5 separate regions of the Homo sapiens genome follow, and regions 1, 3, 4 and 5 are each linked to region 2. Evidence: promoter capture Hi-C in 16 types of primary human blood cells and fetal thymus (Javierre and others, 2016). All regions are on one chromosome and are shown on one strand. Each heading gives the region's core, a stretch centred on a gene start or on the middle of the fragment in contact. The rest is flanking DNA. Distances are from core to core; before and after follow the strand shown.

Region 1 (2,712 bases), core at 146-2,645, 720 kb before region 2:
TATTTTTCTTGATGTGGAGTCTCGCTCTGTCGCCCAGGCTGGAGTGCAGTGGTGCCATCTTGGCTCACTGCGACCTCTGCCTCCTGGGTTCAAGCGATTCTGCCTCAGCCTCCCGAGTAGCTGGGACTACAGGCGTGCACCACCACAATCTATTTTTGTATCTTTAATAGAGATGGAGTTTCACCATGTTGGCCATGCTGGTCTCAAACTCCTGACCTCAGGTGATCCACCTGCCTCAGCCTCCTGAAGTGTTGGGATTACAGGCGTGAGCCACTGTACCAGGCTGAGATCATGCAGTATTAGTCTTTCTGTGCTTACTTATCTCACTTAGCATAGCAGGTTCATCCAGGCTGTTGGAAATGGCAGGATTTCCTTCTTTTTTGGAGCTGAATAATATTCCATTGCGTAGACACGTTTCCCTCACCCATTCATCTGTGGATGGATGTTATTTTCCATAATGGCTGTACAAGTTTACATTTTTACTAACAGTGTACAGTGATCCCTTTCCCCCACATCCTCAATAACAGTTGTTATCTTTCCTCTTTTGGATAATAGCCATTCTAACAGGTGTGAGGTGATGTCTCATTGAGGTTTTGATTTGCATTTCCCTGATGATTAGTGCTGTTGAGCACTTTTTCATACACCCGTTGGGCATTTATATGTCTTCTTTTGATAAATATCTGTTCAGGTTCTTTGCCCATTTTCAATCAGGTGATTTGTTTTTTGCTACTGTGTTCCATGAGTTCCGTATATATTCTTGATATTGCCTCCTTATGAGATGTACGGTTTGCAACGTCAGGAAGCTTTTCCCCTGTGTTTTCTTCTCGTAGTTTTATGATTTCAGGTCTTACATTGAAGTCTCTAATCCATTTTGAGTTGATTTAGAATATGCAAAGGAAGCACTTGAAAAAGCCAGCACTAGGTTGGGCAGATCCCTCCTGTGGGAAACTGACTTGGGATAAGAGCAGGACTGCCTGGCCCCCCAGTGAGAGGTGACAGCGTGCTAGCAGCCCTCGCTCGCTCTCAGCGCCTCCTCTGCCTGGGCTCCCACTTTGGCGGCACTTGAGGAGCCCTTCAGCCCGCCGCTGCACTGTGGGAGCCCCTTTCTGGTCTGGCCAAGACTGGAGCCGGCTCCCTCGGCTTGTGGAGAGGTGTGGAGGGAGAGGCGCGAGCAGGAACCAGGGCTGCGCGCAGCGCTTGCGGGCCAGTGCGAGTTCCAGGTGGGCGTGGGCTCGGCAGGCCCTGCACTCGGAGCGGCCGGCCGGCACCGCCGCCCCGGGCAGTGAGGGGCTTAGCACCTGGGCCAGCAGCTGCTGTGCTAGACTTCTCGCCGGGCCTTAGCTGCATCCCCGTGGGGCAGGGCTCGGGACCTGCAGCCCCCCATGCCTGAGCCTGAGTCTCCCCAACCTCCACCCCGCCCCCGTGGGCTCCTGCACTGCCTGAGTCTCCCCGACAAGTGCTGCCCCCTGCCCCACGGCGCCCAGTCCCATCGACTGCCCAAGGGCTGAGGAGCACGGGCGCACCTTGCGGGACTGGCAGGCAGCTCCACCTGCGGCCCTCGTGCGGAATCCACTGGCTGAAGCCAGCTGGGCTCCTGAGTCTGATGGGGACTTGGAGAACCTTTATGTCTAGCTAAGGGATTGTAAATACACCAATCGGCACTCTATATAGAGCTCAAGGTTTGTAAACACACCAATCAGCACCCTGTGTCTAGCTCAGGGTTTGTGAATGCACCAATGGACACTCTGTATCTAGCTACTCTGGTGGGGACTTGGAGAACTTTTGTGTCTAGCTCAGGGATTGTAAATGCACCAATCAGCACCCTGTCAAAACGGACCAATCAGCTCTCTGTAAAATGGACCAATTGGCTCTCTGTAAAATGGACCAATCAGCAGGATGTGGGTGGGGCCAGATAAGAATAAAAGCAGGCTGCCAGAGGTAGTAGTGGCAACCCGCTCCGACCCGTTTTCATAGTGTGGAAGCTTTATTCTTTTGCTGTTTGCAATAAATCTTGCTACTGCTCATTCTTTGGGTCCACGCTGCTTTTATGAGCTGTAACACTCACTGTAAAAGTCTGCAGCTTCACTCTGGAACCAGCGAGACCACAAACCCACCGGAAGGAAGAAACTGCAAACACATCCGAGCATCAGAAGTAACAAACTCCAGACAGGGGGCCTTTAAGAACTGTAACACTGGCCACGAGAGTCCGCGGCTTCATTTTTGAAGTCAGTGAGACCAAGAACCCACCAATTCCGGACACAGTACTTGCTGCCTCTCTATATCATCTCCTCTGAAGGCAGGTATTTGCCTACACAGTCTGCTGAGTACTAAGTGCAACACACACTGCAGGGGCTTCCCAGAGCCCTACTCGGATTCAGGTGGATTCTTATGCAGATGGTGAAAAAGGTCAAAAGTTTGAACTGGGAATCAATTGCTGTAAGTTTCTCTATGATATTCTCCCAGCAAGATGTCTTCCTTGTAATAACTTGGGAGAACGTTGACTCCAGGGTAGGAGAGTGTTCCTGAGGAGTCGGCACACTTTATGGCTGGCCCCAGGCCGTGGGTCAGAAAAATCCACAGCTGGCCACACCATTCTGTGCAGCGGGAAAAACCATCAGTTGAAGGTACTGTGGAAAATCAGTTAAGCTCATTCAATCATCCTGGTTCCTGGTGGGTTCAGTGTCCCATATTTAAGACAAAACTCTTAACACT
Region 2 (2,871 bases), core at 162-2,661:
GAATATGGAGAGGTGGGGATATGGAGAGGCGGGGATAAGGAGAGGTGGGGATAAGGAGAGTGGCCCCGCAGCTCCCCTGGTGAACCAGAATACTTTCTCAGGGTTGTTCCCAGGCTGGAGGGAGGGAATTTTAGGGGTACGTAAGGTGACTCCAAGGAGCCTTGGGTGCAAGTACTGGGGGATCCCAGAGACCCAGAAGATGGGGGTAGAAAGGAAGGTGTTTGCCTTCACGGGGAGTAGCCTCAAAATAAGAGGGACTGAGGGAAGTCATTCCAAATGCAGTGGGTAGGTAGTTTAGGCTCTTCCAATGGGATGGGGTGGAGCTTAGACCTCTGCAAAAGAAGGGGGTCATTCGGAGGGGACGGTGCACAGCTGAGGCGTTGGGCTCCTAAACTGGAAACAGGAGGCTCTAAGAGGCACTGCCTTTTCCTCCAGCCTCGGTGTGGTGGGGGTGGTGAGTGTCTGGAACCGGGTTTCCCGAATCAGGACAGGAGTCTGAATGGATCTCACAAAAACCGGCCAGGGAGGGAGAGAACCAGGGGAGACTCCTCACACCGGGAGGTGGGGGTGGCGGCAAACTGAGAACCCGGGCTTGGGGCGCGGGATTTTCTCAACAGACCATAGGGTCCACTAATGTGGACGGCAGGGATTTGGGGAAACTAAGGGGGACTCTCACTTTGGACACCAAGGGCTGAGGACGGATTGGGGAAGAGGATACGGTTTCTACTGGGGTGCTGATGGAGGTTCCCCACTCGGGACGCGAGGCACTGAGTGGGTCCCCCAAACTGGATATGGGATCCTGGGAACGGAGCGAGGGCTCTAAATTAGAGCCCTGGGGTGGGGGTGGGGGGCTGTAAATTAGGTTGGGAGGAAACTGGGGGCTCTGAGGGCGGCTTCTCGCTCCGACTGGGGAAATGGAGCATGTGGGGACTGGGGAGCACTAGGGCTATCTCCCGCCCGACCCGAGGAGATTGGGGTTCTCTTCAATTCTGGACAGCAGGGACCTGAGAGGGAAGACCGGGGGGGTTCCCGATCCGGAACCGAGCTACCTTGAAGGCACCGGGAAGCGCTTCATTCCGGGAGGGCGTTCCCGCGGCCGGGCCCCCGCGCCGGGGTGGGTGGGGGGTGCGGCCGCGCCCTGGTCCCGGCCCGCACCGGGATTCGGGGGTCTCGCTCGGCCCCGGAGACCCAGGAGCCCCGCGGGAAGGGGGTCCCGGCGCCGCCGCCTCCGCGGGCGCCCGGGCTCGCGGGCGAGCGCGGGGCTTTATGCGCGCAGGGCGGCGGGGGGAGGAGCCGGCAGGTCGGCCCCCGGCGGGCCCTCCCCTCGGCCGTCCCCGCCCGCCCGCCCGAGCGGGGTCGGGGGAGGGGGCAGCATGGCCTGTCCGTCCGGCCCCCTTCGCCGCGCTCCTCATCTGCCCCGCGCCGAGCGCCGCCGCCGCCGCCGCCGCCGCCGCTCCGCTGCCCGCGCCGCCCGCGGCTCCCGATGGAGACTGACGCGCCCCAGCCCGGCCTCGCCTCCCCGGACTCGCCGCACGACCCCTGGTACGGCCCGGCCCGGCCTGCTTGGCCCGCGCCCGCCCCGGCCCCGCCAACATGGCCGATCCGGGTCCGGCCGGGCCTCCCCGGAGCCCGGGCCCGCGCCCCCTGCGCCCTGGCGCCCGGCGCTCACGCGGGCCCTTTGTGTCTCTCCTCCTCCCGCAGCAAGATGTTCATCGGGGGACTCAGTTGGCAGACTACGCAGGGTGAGCGAGCCCGGGAGCGCCCGCCGGTCCGGCAGGGCACCCCGGACCCCCCGGCGCCCCGGACCCGGACACCCCAGCCCGGCCCTGCGCCCTGCTGACCCCGGGCGCCCTCGCGCCCTCTTTCGCGCCCCGCCCGGAGACCCCGAGAGCGCAGGGCGATCCGCGAGCGCACCCGGCCCAGCGGGTGGAGGGGAGCAGATGAGGGGTTCAGGGGGTATCGGGGGGTGGGCTGGGCCCCCGGGACCCGCCGGCGGCAGCGCCAACTCCGCTCGCACCTGCGGCTCAAACTTTTGTGAGGCTGCTCCCGGAGCGGCGGGAACCCGGCCGGAGCCGTCCCCCTTCCAGCCCAGCTCGGCCCTCGGCTTCCCGGGGCCCCGGTGGGCGCCAGGAGGCTCAGCGGGAACGGGGCGAGGGCGGTGGGGGGCGGCGGCAGTGGAGAACGCGCGGGCAGCTTGGCGCGGGGGCGGCCGGGCCGCTCCGGGGTCACCGGGGGCAAAGGACGGGGGGGGGGGAAGGGCGCGGGGCCCGGGCTGGTCCGAAGGCGGGTGTGTGGTTACAGAAGGGCTGCGCGAATACTTCGGCCAGTTCGGGGAGGTGAAGGAGTGTCTGGTGATGCGGGACCCCCTGACCAAGAGATCCAGGTGAGCCCCTCACCCCCTCCTCCTGCTCCCGGCTCGCCCCCCTCCACCCGCCACTCACTGCCTTGTAACCATCTGCCTCTCCCTCACTACGGCGCGCAGGGGTTTCGGCTTCGTCACTTTCATGGACCAGGCGGGGGTGGATAAAGTGCTGGCGCAATCGCGGCACGAGCTCGACTCCAAAACAGTGAGTGGCCCTCGGGGCTTCGGGGGTCCTTTGGGAGAGGGAGGCTGCCGGAGGAGAGGGTCAGGACTCTCCCCAGGGGACAGCTGGACGGGGTCCATGAGGAAGGAGGGAGTTTTTCTGAGTAAGAGGGCTGCCATGCTCTGAAACTTTGTCACTAGAGTTGGGGGGGAGAGGGAGGAGAAAAATCCCTGGCCTGCCATGAGATGCTACATCCCCCCTCCCCTAGTCCTGGTGAGGGGAGAGGCAGCCGCCACCCTCTCCCTAGAAGTACTAATCATGATGCCTCAGAGCAGAGCTTGGGGTG
Region 3 (2,700 bases), core at 38-2,537, 600 kb before region 2:
CTGGTCTCAAACTCCTGGCCTCAAAAGATCCACCCACCTCGGCCTCCCAAACTGTTGGGATTATAGGCGTGAGCCACCGTGCCCGGCCAAGTGCATTTTTTTGTAAACCCCCGTGCAAGTTGCTTTGAGGTTGAGCAGCTTACTGCTGGGGACAGCATTCTCAAGTCCAGGCTAAACAGGGAAGATGCTGTGTGCTGTCCCTTTGTGGCTTTGAGGTTCTCCTGCTTATTCTCTTTGCTGCCTGCAGCTGCCTCTTGGTGACTTTCCCTTTCCAGGGAGCCAGAGGAACCAAGGAGTGTTGGCCCTGACTCCTGCCCCCAGCATGTAAACTCATTAACTGCTGGGTCCTCAGGCAGTTAGGTGGCTGAGCATTTGAGTCTGGGACGGCAGGTGGATTTGGTTGGAGAGGGAATGACAGAGATTGGGGAGGAGCCTCCAGAGTCTAAAGAGATAGGTACACAAGCAGAAAGTTCCAGCCCCCAGCCTGCCTTTCCCCCATGCTCAGGGGACAAAGCTGAATTAACTCGAGGTCAGGAATGGCATTTGCATTTGCATTCTTGAGAGTCACTGCAAATAAGAGCTGTAGTCATGGTGAGTGGTTAAGGCAATGGACTAGAGAACCACTGAGAAAAAAAGCGAACAGTGGCTGGGCGCAGTGGCTCATGCCTGTCATCCCAGCACTTTGGGAGACCGAAGTGGGTGGATCACTTGAGGTCAGGAGTTCGAGACCAGCCTGGCCAACATGGTGAAAACCCGTCTCTACTAAAAATACAAAAATTAGCCAGGCTTGTCAGTGGGCACCTATAATCCCAGCTAGTCGGAAGGCTGAGGCAGGAGAATCACTTGAACCCAGAAGGCAGAGGTTGCAGTGAGCTGAGATCATGACACTGCACTCCAGCCTGGGTGACAGAGAGAAACTCCGTCTCAAAAAAAAAAGAAAAAGAAAAAAAAAAAAAGGAACAGCCGGACATGGTAGCTCATACCTGTAATCCCAGCGCTTTGGGAGACCGAGGCAGGTGGATCACCTGAGGTCAGGAGTTCCAGATCAGCCTGGCCAACATGGTAAAACCCCATCTCTACTAAAAATACAAAAATTAGCTGGATGTGGTGGCGCACACCTGTAGTCCCAGATACTCAGGAGGCTGAGGCAGGAGAATAGCTTGAACCCGGGAGGCGGAGGTTGCAGTGAGCAGAGATCACGCCACTGCACTCCAGCCTGGGCGATAGAGTAACAATCCGTCTCAAAAAAATCTGAAAATTAAAAATTAAAAAGTGAACAGTTGTTTAGTAAGTGCAGTAGGTAGGCCAAGATAACTATTAAGTATGTCCTAACAAGGTAGCTGCTTGAAAAAAATAATGCACATAAATTAAAAAAAAAAAAACTATTTTCACTCATTCTTAACTTCTCGTATGGATGTACTAACGGGAGGCCTGTGCCTGTTGGGCTGTCCACAGCTACTCAAACCTTGAGATTAGATTGGACGCTATCTAATCTCATTTCCTGTTACACAATAACTTCTGCATGGCACTTGCTTTTAATCATGACAACTGCCATACACTCAGCTTTACAAAATCATGTCATTGTGGAAAGGAAGTTCCCTCCATCTAACATTCAAATTTAACTATCCTGAGCTGGTAGTTTGCAAGGTGTCCAACAGATGTCACTGTGTTTCCTTCGCAAATTCTCTAAAATAGTCTGCTGTGTCCCGGGGCATAGTAGATATTCAAGAAATGGTGGCTATGAGTTTTATCACAATTCTCTCCTACTGGGTGAGCAGCTGTTTGCAAGACTAAAATTCGGGCGAGGCACAGGCTTCCCCTTGGTCTTAGCAGCTAGCACAAGACGAGTGTCCCTTCAGCCAGTCTCAGAGCTCTTTGGCAATTCAACTGACCCTTGTCCTTCAGTCCAGACAATGCCCCAGGGCCCACCTGCATTCAAACTCGGACTGTTCTCCTTCCCACCCCTATTATCTTTTCAACTTTATGGACAGTACATGCAATTTTCTCATTCATTTTCTCATTTAACATCTAACAGCTTCATGATATCCCCATTTTACAGATAAGGAAACCAAGGCTTTAAGAGGATAGGGACCCTAATCGGCTAAGGCAGAATTAGGATTTGAACCCAGATCCCCATGACGCCAGAATCTAAGCCTTGACCAAATATGTGTTACTATTACTTTTGTTGTTGTTGTTGTTCTGGGTAACTCCAACCCTCTGCTCGTTGGCCTTGTCACCTCAGTGCTGATTTTGCAGATGAAGAGACTAAGGTTCCGAGGTGCTAGAGCACAGTGGTTAGGAACACACACTCTAGAGCCAGAGTGCCTGGGTTTGAGCCTCGTTCTGCCGTTTACTAGCCGTATGGCCTTGGGCAACTTGCTTAACTTCTCTTTGCCTCAGTTCCTCTTCTCTTGGGTTGTTAGGAGAATGAATGAGGTGATATCCACAGTGTCCAACACCCTGCAAGCGGCCAGGTGTGGTGGATCACACCTGCAATCCCAGCACTTTGGGAGGCCGAGGCAGGTGGATCATTTGAGGTCAGGAGTTCGAGACCAGTCTGGCCAACATGGCGAAACCTCATTTCTACTAAAAATACAAAAATTAGCCGGGCGTGGTGGCAAACAACTGTAATCCGAGCTACTAGGGAGGCTGAGGCAGAAGAATCGCTTGAACCCAGGAGACAGAGGTTGCAGTGAGCCA
Region 4 (2,700 bases), core at 173-2,672, 860 kb before region 2:
TTCAACAACAACAACAACAACAAAAAGAACCACTCGTTCGTCACACAGATAAAGAGATGAACAAAACGTCGTCTGTCAACACAGCAGAATATGATTTGGCCATAAAAAGAGACGAGGTACTGACACAGGCTACGACATGGATGAAGCTTGAAAACATCAGGCTAAGGGGAAGGAGCCAGACGCAAAAGGCCACATATTGATTATATGAAATGCTCAGAAGAGGCACATCTGCAGAGACAGAAAGTAGACCACTGTTGCCAGGGGCCGGGGGATGACAGAAGGGTGCAGGGTTTCTTTTTGAGATGACGGAAATGTTCTAAAATCGACTGTGGTGAAGCCTGCACTTATCTGTGAATATAGTGAAAACTATGAATTCTGCACTTCAAATGTGTGAACGGTATGGCATGTGAATTGCATCTCAGTAAGACCATTTAAAAATATATGGCTGGGTGCGGTGGCTCACACCTGTAATTCCGGCACTTTGGGAGGCCGAGGCAGGTGGATCACTTGAGGTGAGGAGCTCGAGACCACCCTGGCCAATGTGGAGAAACCCCGTCTCTAATAAAAATACAAAAAATTAGCTGGGTGTGGTGGCGGGCGCCTGTAATCCCAGCTACTCAGGCGGCTGAGGCAGGAGAATGTCTTGAACCCGGGAGGCAAAGGCTGCAGTGAGCTGAAATCGCACCACTGCACTCCAACCTGGGTGACAGAGCAAGTCACTCCCTTAAAAAAGAAGAAAAAAAAAAAAATATATATATATAATGGCTATATATATAATGGCTATATATATATATACACATATATACATATACATATATGAGAGAGAGAGAGAGCGAGCACGCGAGAGAGCGCACACGCATGAGCAGGGGATGGATGGTTGGTGAAGAACCGTCAAGACATACCATCTGCTGCCCCATGTTCTCCAGGGATCCATCAGGAGCCTCGGCCCGCACCCTAGCTCCATGCTCTATCTGGCCCACAACTTCCACGCCATGGGCCAGGCCTGGGAGACACAGGCAGGGCCTGGTGCTGCCCGAGGTTGGGGGATAGGCGTCCTGAGTTCTTTCCGTTTTAGGGCTCTGACCTAAGCTTGAGGTTTCCACAAGAAGTGTGTGACAGTAGAGATGGAATAACACAAATCTAACTGCTAGAAAAGAAAAATTCAAATATCTGCTTTACTCAGTGAGCCAGAAGGTTCAAAAGGACAGCAGATCCCACAATTACAGAGGTCTTAGGATCCCGTATGGATCGGATTCCACACGTCACCACTAGGGGGAGGCAAGTGCAGCCCAAAGCACCGCTGACCGCGCCCAGGGATGGTCCTTGCAGGGCCTCTTTTTTTTCCCCCTGAGACGGAGACTTGCTTTGTCGCCCAGGCTGGAGTGCAGCAGTGCGATCTCGGCTCACTGCAACCTCTGCCTCCCTGGCTCAAGCGATTCTCCTGCCTCAGCCTCCCAAGTTGCTGGGATTACAGGCATGCGCCACCATGCCCAGCTAATTTTTGTATTTTTTTTAGTAGAGATGGGGTTTCGCCATGCTGGCCTCAGGTGATCTGCCCGCCTTGGCCTCCCAAAGTGCTAGGATTACAGGTGTGAGTCACTGCGCCCGGCCTGGAGCGCTTCCTTTTTAAGGACTGTGAAAAATGCAACAAAGGGTACGTGGAAATTTACCTGGCTATAGATTCTGATCATGAGATCATCAGCTGTAGTGGGTTGAACAGTGTGTCCCCAAAAATTCACATCTACCTGAAGCTTGGGAGTGTGACCTTATTTGGAAATGGGATATTGGCAGACGTAATTTGTTAAGATGAGGTCATACTAGAGTAGGGTGGGCCCTAAATTCAGTGACTGATATCCTTACAAGAAGAAAAGACACAGAGACACATACAAGGCAGAAGGCCTCATGACAGGAGAGGCAGAGACTGGAGTGATGCATCCACAAGCCAAGGAACACCGTGGGCTACCAGAAGCCAGGAGAGACAAGTAAGGACTCTCTCCAGAGCCTTCAGAGCGAGCACAGCCCTGCTGATGCCTGGATTTTAGGTTGTGGCCTCTAGAACTGTGAGAACTGTGAGAGAATCAAGTCCTGTAGTTGCAAGCCACTGTTTGTGGGACTCGCTTACATCTGCCCCAGGACACCGAGATGCCAGCATTTGCAGCAGGGAACCCAGCAAGGCCTTTCAGGGGCCTCAGACCTGTGTCCCCTGCACTCTGGAGATTCTGGCACAGGTTCAACCTTTGAGAAACCAATTCCTGGGCCAGGCCCCAGAGGCCTTTGGACTGGAGGATCACAAGATCATCCGCTCCTTGAGGCAGTGAATGGAGGTCATGGCTGAGGCAGGTGCTGGAAAGCTTAAGCCCCCAGCTTCTCCTGGCTGCTCTAAGAACCATCTCAACATGTTTCTTGCGGCAGGAAAGGGCAAGGAGGGGTCTCGGGGGCCGGGATGGCCCCGGAGCAGGACACCACTAAGGGCATTTTCCCAGCATGGCCTTCCCGCCGCCTTGGACGGGGGACCGGCAGCCTGCCCTTGGGGTGCTGCCTGAGTGCTGGTCTTCAGTGGGCGGCCCACTGGCACGTACGCAGCCACCAGCACCCCCTACAACATGAGCGAGGGGCCCAAGCTCACGCCCACCTGAAATTGTAGCCAGGAGATACGTTGTGCTCAACGTCCCGTGTATCGAGGCGGCGGAAGGAGTACCT
Region 5 (2,700 bases), core at 1-2,500, 640 kb before region 2:
GATCTGCCTGCCTTGGCCTCCCAAAGTGCTAGGATTACAGGCGTGAGCCACCATGCCTGGCCTCATCTTGTTTTACTATGTCTTTAAAACTTCTTCAACACTTACTGGAATAAAGTGGGCTTTAAAGAAATGAAGCACTGCAGTTCGCGTGGCAGAGGCTGGTCAGCATGTTATAACCAGACCATCAGCCCTCTTACTAGGCCAGCACGCTTTCGCTTTTGCATTTACAATCACATACCCCATCCCCTCCACTTGAAAAAGAATTTTGTTTTTGTCGTTATCCAAAAATCTCATCTTAAATCAACCGTCTCGTCTCCCTGTAGCTTCATTACCATCTCAGAAGCAGCAAAGGAGCCAGCAAAAGCTAAGGTACAGAAAGTCGCTTTGGAGGATGATGGTGAGTGGTTATACTTAATAGAAGCTATCATTTATTAAGCACCTAATGTGTGTCTGGAGGTGGGCGAAACAGTTTTGGTATATTCTTTTTTTTTTTTCTTTTTTTGAGATAGGAACTCTCTCTGCCACCTAGGCTGGAGTGCAGTGGAGCAATTATAGCTCAATGCAGCCTCAACCTCCCGGACCCAAGCAGTCCTCCCACCTCAGCTTCCTGAGTAGCTGGGACCACAGACACACACCACCACCCCTGGCTAATTATTTATGTTTTTTAGAGACAGGATCTCGCTATGTTGCCCAGGCTGGTCTTGAACTCCTGGCCTCAAGCCATCTGCCCACCTTAGCCTTCCAAAGTTCTGGGACTACAGGCGTGCACCACCACACCTGGCTAATTTTTGTATTTTTTTTTAGAGACAGGGTTCTGTCATGTTGCCCAGGCTGGTCTTAAACTCCTGGCCTCAAGCTATCCTCCCGCCTCAGACTACCAAAGTACTGGGGTTACAGGCATGGGCCACCTCACCATTCTTTCATCTGCTCAGCCCCTGTGGTGAGGCAGGTATTATGATTGAACCCCATGTACAGACAAGGAGACTGAGGCCCTGAGAAACGAAGTCATTTGCCTGAGGCGGCCTCGTCTGTGTCACCCTGAGCAGGAGCACTTTACTGCTGCCCTCCACAGCCTCGCCCATCTGCGTCTGTCCTGTACCAACACATTTGCCACTTTGAAGGCTGCCTTAGGTCAGGAGCTCAAGTGCTGACTTCCAGAAGCCTCTGAGGGCTTGCTGAGCTGATGTGGCTGCTGGCTCCTGCTCCAGCGCGCCCTCCACTGGCTCCATCAGGCATCAGCATGACCCTTGGCAGATGCAGAATCACTTTGTAGTTAGACGACTGATTCCTGGGTCTTTGCCTCTGGACCAGGAGCTCCTGAGGGCAGAGGCGGGGCAGCTTCAGCACCTGGCACCTGGGAGGAGGGGCTGGCATCTGGGGGTGCTGACTCTGCTCCTTTGTTTTTTTTGTTTGTTTGCTTGGTTGGGTTTTTTTGTTATTGTTTCTTTTTTAAATTTTTTTATTTTGTGTCTTCTTAAAATTTTTTTTTTGTTTCTCTTTATCTTTTCTTTCTTTCGTTTTCCTTTTTAAAATTTTTTTCTTTTTTGTTTCTTTATTTTTTATTTTTTTATGTTTCTTTTTGTTTTGTTTTGTTTTTGTTTGACTCTGCCCCATTGAATCTTAGGTTTCCGCCTTTTCTTCACATCTGTCCCTGGAGGCCGTGAGAAGGAAGAGTCTCCCCAACCCCGCCGAAAGCGACAGCCCTCCAGCTCCAGGTGAGAACTCACACCTCTCCTCACGTCCCCTCCTTTTTTCTCCTCTTCTGTCTTGGTGGGTTCCCTGGAATAGCCAAGCAGACTCCAGTCAGGACCAGGCCAAGGCAGTGGCCCTGTCAGGCAGCTGGAGAAATCATGAGCTCAGCGGGAGGGAAAGCCCTCTTGGCGGCAGCTTTGGATGTTTACTGCTTTTGAGCACCTGTCTTGGGCCAGACACCTCACTTGATCATAGTTGCCTCCTGGGACATCCCTGGGAGGCCTGGACTCTGTTAAGATCCCCGTTTTAGAGATGATACAGTCAGAGAGGTTAAGTCACTTAAGGAGGTCACAAGGCTGCTACGCCCAGAAGCCAGTATTGGAAGCCAGGTTGGCCTCACTCCCAAGCCTGAACTCACTACCTGCCTCTCTCTGCGGCCACCTTCTGGTGACCTGGACCAAGGGAGGACAGCGAGAGGCAGCTCTGGGGCTGTGTCCTGACTCCAGCTAACCCAGGGTACCCTCTCGTTGCAGCAGTGAGGACAGTGACGAGGAGTGGCGGCGGTGCCGGGAGGCAGCTGTGTCGGCGTCCGACATCCTACAGGAGTCAGCCATCCACAGCCCTGGAACAGTGGAGAAGGAGGCAAAGAAGAAAAGGAAGTTGAAAAAGAAAGCCAAGAAGGTGGCCAGTGTCGACTCGGCTGTCGCTGCCACCACCCCCACCAGCATGGCCACAGTCCAGAAGCAGAAGTCAGGTGAGCTCAACGGGGACCAGGTGTCGCTTGGGACCAAAAAGAAGAAAAAGGCAAAGAAGGCCAGCGAGACCTCTCCATTCCCACCAGCAAAGAGTGCTACAGCTATACCTGCAAACTGAACCCAGCCATGGGCACAGGGCTCAGCCAGCTCCAAGGACAAGGTGTCCCCCCCACCCTGGGGACAAGGCATTTCCAAGCCCCACCTCCCTCTCCAAGTTCAAGGACTGGGCTGGCAAACCCAGACTGCCCATGAG

The links. Contacts are between HindIII fragments. The CHiCAGO score rates a contact against its expected background, and 5 or more counts as called.
Region 1: a contact is called between a fragment that was not itself captured here and the fragment with the promoter of MSI1 in region 2, in 1 of 17 cell types (naive B cells). The highest score is 5.7, in naive B cells.
Region 3: the fragment with the promoter of HNF1A-AS1 here is called in contact with the fragment with the promoter of MSI1 in region 2 in 3 of 17 cell types (activated CD4 T cells, total B cells and naive B cells); the score reaches 9.2 in activated CD4 T cells.
Region 4: a contact is called between a fragment that was not itself captured here and the fragment with the promoter of MSI1 in region 2, in 1 of 17 cell types (naive B cells). The highest score is 5.3, in naive B cells.
Region 5: a fragment that was not itself captured here is called in contact with the fragment with the promoter of MSI1 in region 2 in 2 of 17 cell types (naive B cells and M0 macrophages); the score reaches 7.4 in naive B cells.

The regions. Positions count from the first base shown.
Region 1 is chr12:121,092,338-121,095,049 of GRCh38, reverse strand. It overlaps LOC105378258 (a long non-coding RNA gene), which reads left to right and starts at 2,055. Exons shown (of 4, transcript XR_007063492.1): 1 at 2,055-2,712. RefSeq lists an enhancer at 1,465-1,966. The HindIII fragment of the contact is 1,179 bases long and covers 806-1,984 here.
Region 2 is chr12:120,367,704-120,370,574 of GRCh38, reverse strand. It overlaps MSI1 (musashi RNA binding protein 1), which reads left to right and starts at 1,411. Exons shown (of 15, transcript NM_002442.4): 1 at 1,411-1,542; 2 at 1,702-1,742; 3 at 2,302-2,383; 4 at 2,483-2,567. The coding sequence starts at 1,484. The HindIII fragment of the contact is 14,859 bases long and covers 1-2,871 here.
Region 3 is chr12:120,970,879-120,973,578 of GRCh38, reverse strand. HNF1A-AS1 (HNF1A antisense RNA 1) reads left to right here and starts at 1,287. Exons shown (of 1, transcript NR_024345.1): 1 at 1,287-2,700. RefSeq lists an enhancer at 167-694. The HindIII fragment of the contact is 11,110 bases long and covers 1-2,700 here.
Region 4 is chr12:121,229,032-121,231,731 of GRCh38, reverse strand. It overlaps P2RX4 (purinergic receptor P2X 4), which reads right to left. Exons shown (of 12, transcript NM_002560.3): 8 at 2,633-2,700. Among named protein-coding and RNA genes, the nearest start is that of P2RX4, 20 kb to the right of the region's middle. RefSeq lists an enhancer at 1,176-1,225 and a silencer at 1,172-1,466. The HindIII fragment of the contact is 662 bases long and covers 1,092-1,753 here.
Region 5 is chr12:121,004,018-121,006,717 of GRCh38, reverse strand. C12orf43 (chromosome 12 open reading frame 43) reads left to right here. Exons shown (of 6, transcript NM_022895.3): 4 at 324-397; 5 at 1,625-1,715; 6 at 2,229-2,700. The coding sequence ends at 2,565. Among named protein-coding and RNA genes, the nearest start is that of C12orf43, 11 kb to the left of the region's middle. The HindIII fragment of the contact is 4,279 bases long and covers 1-2,700 here.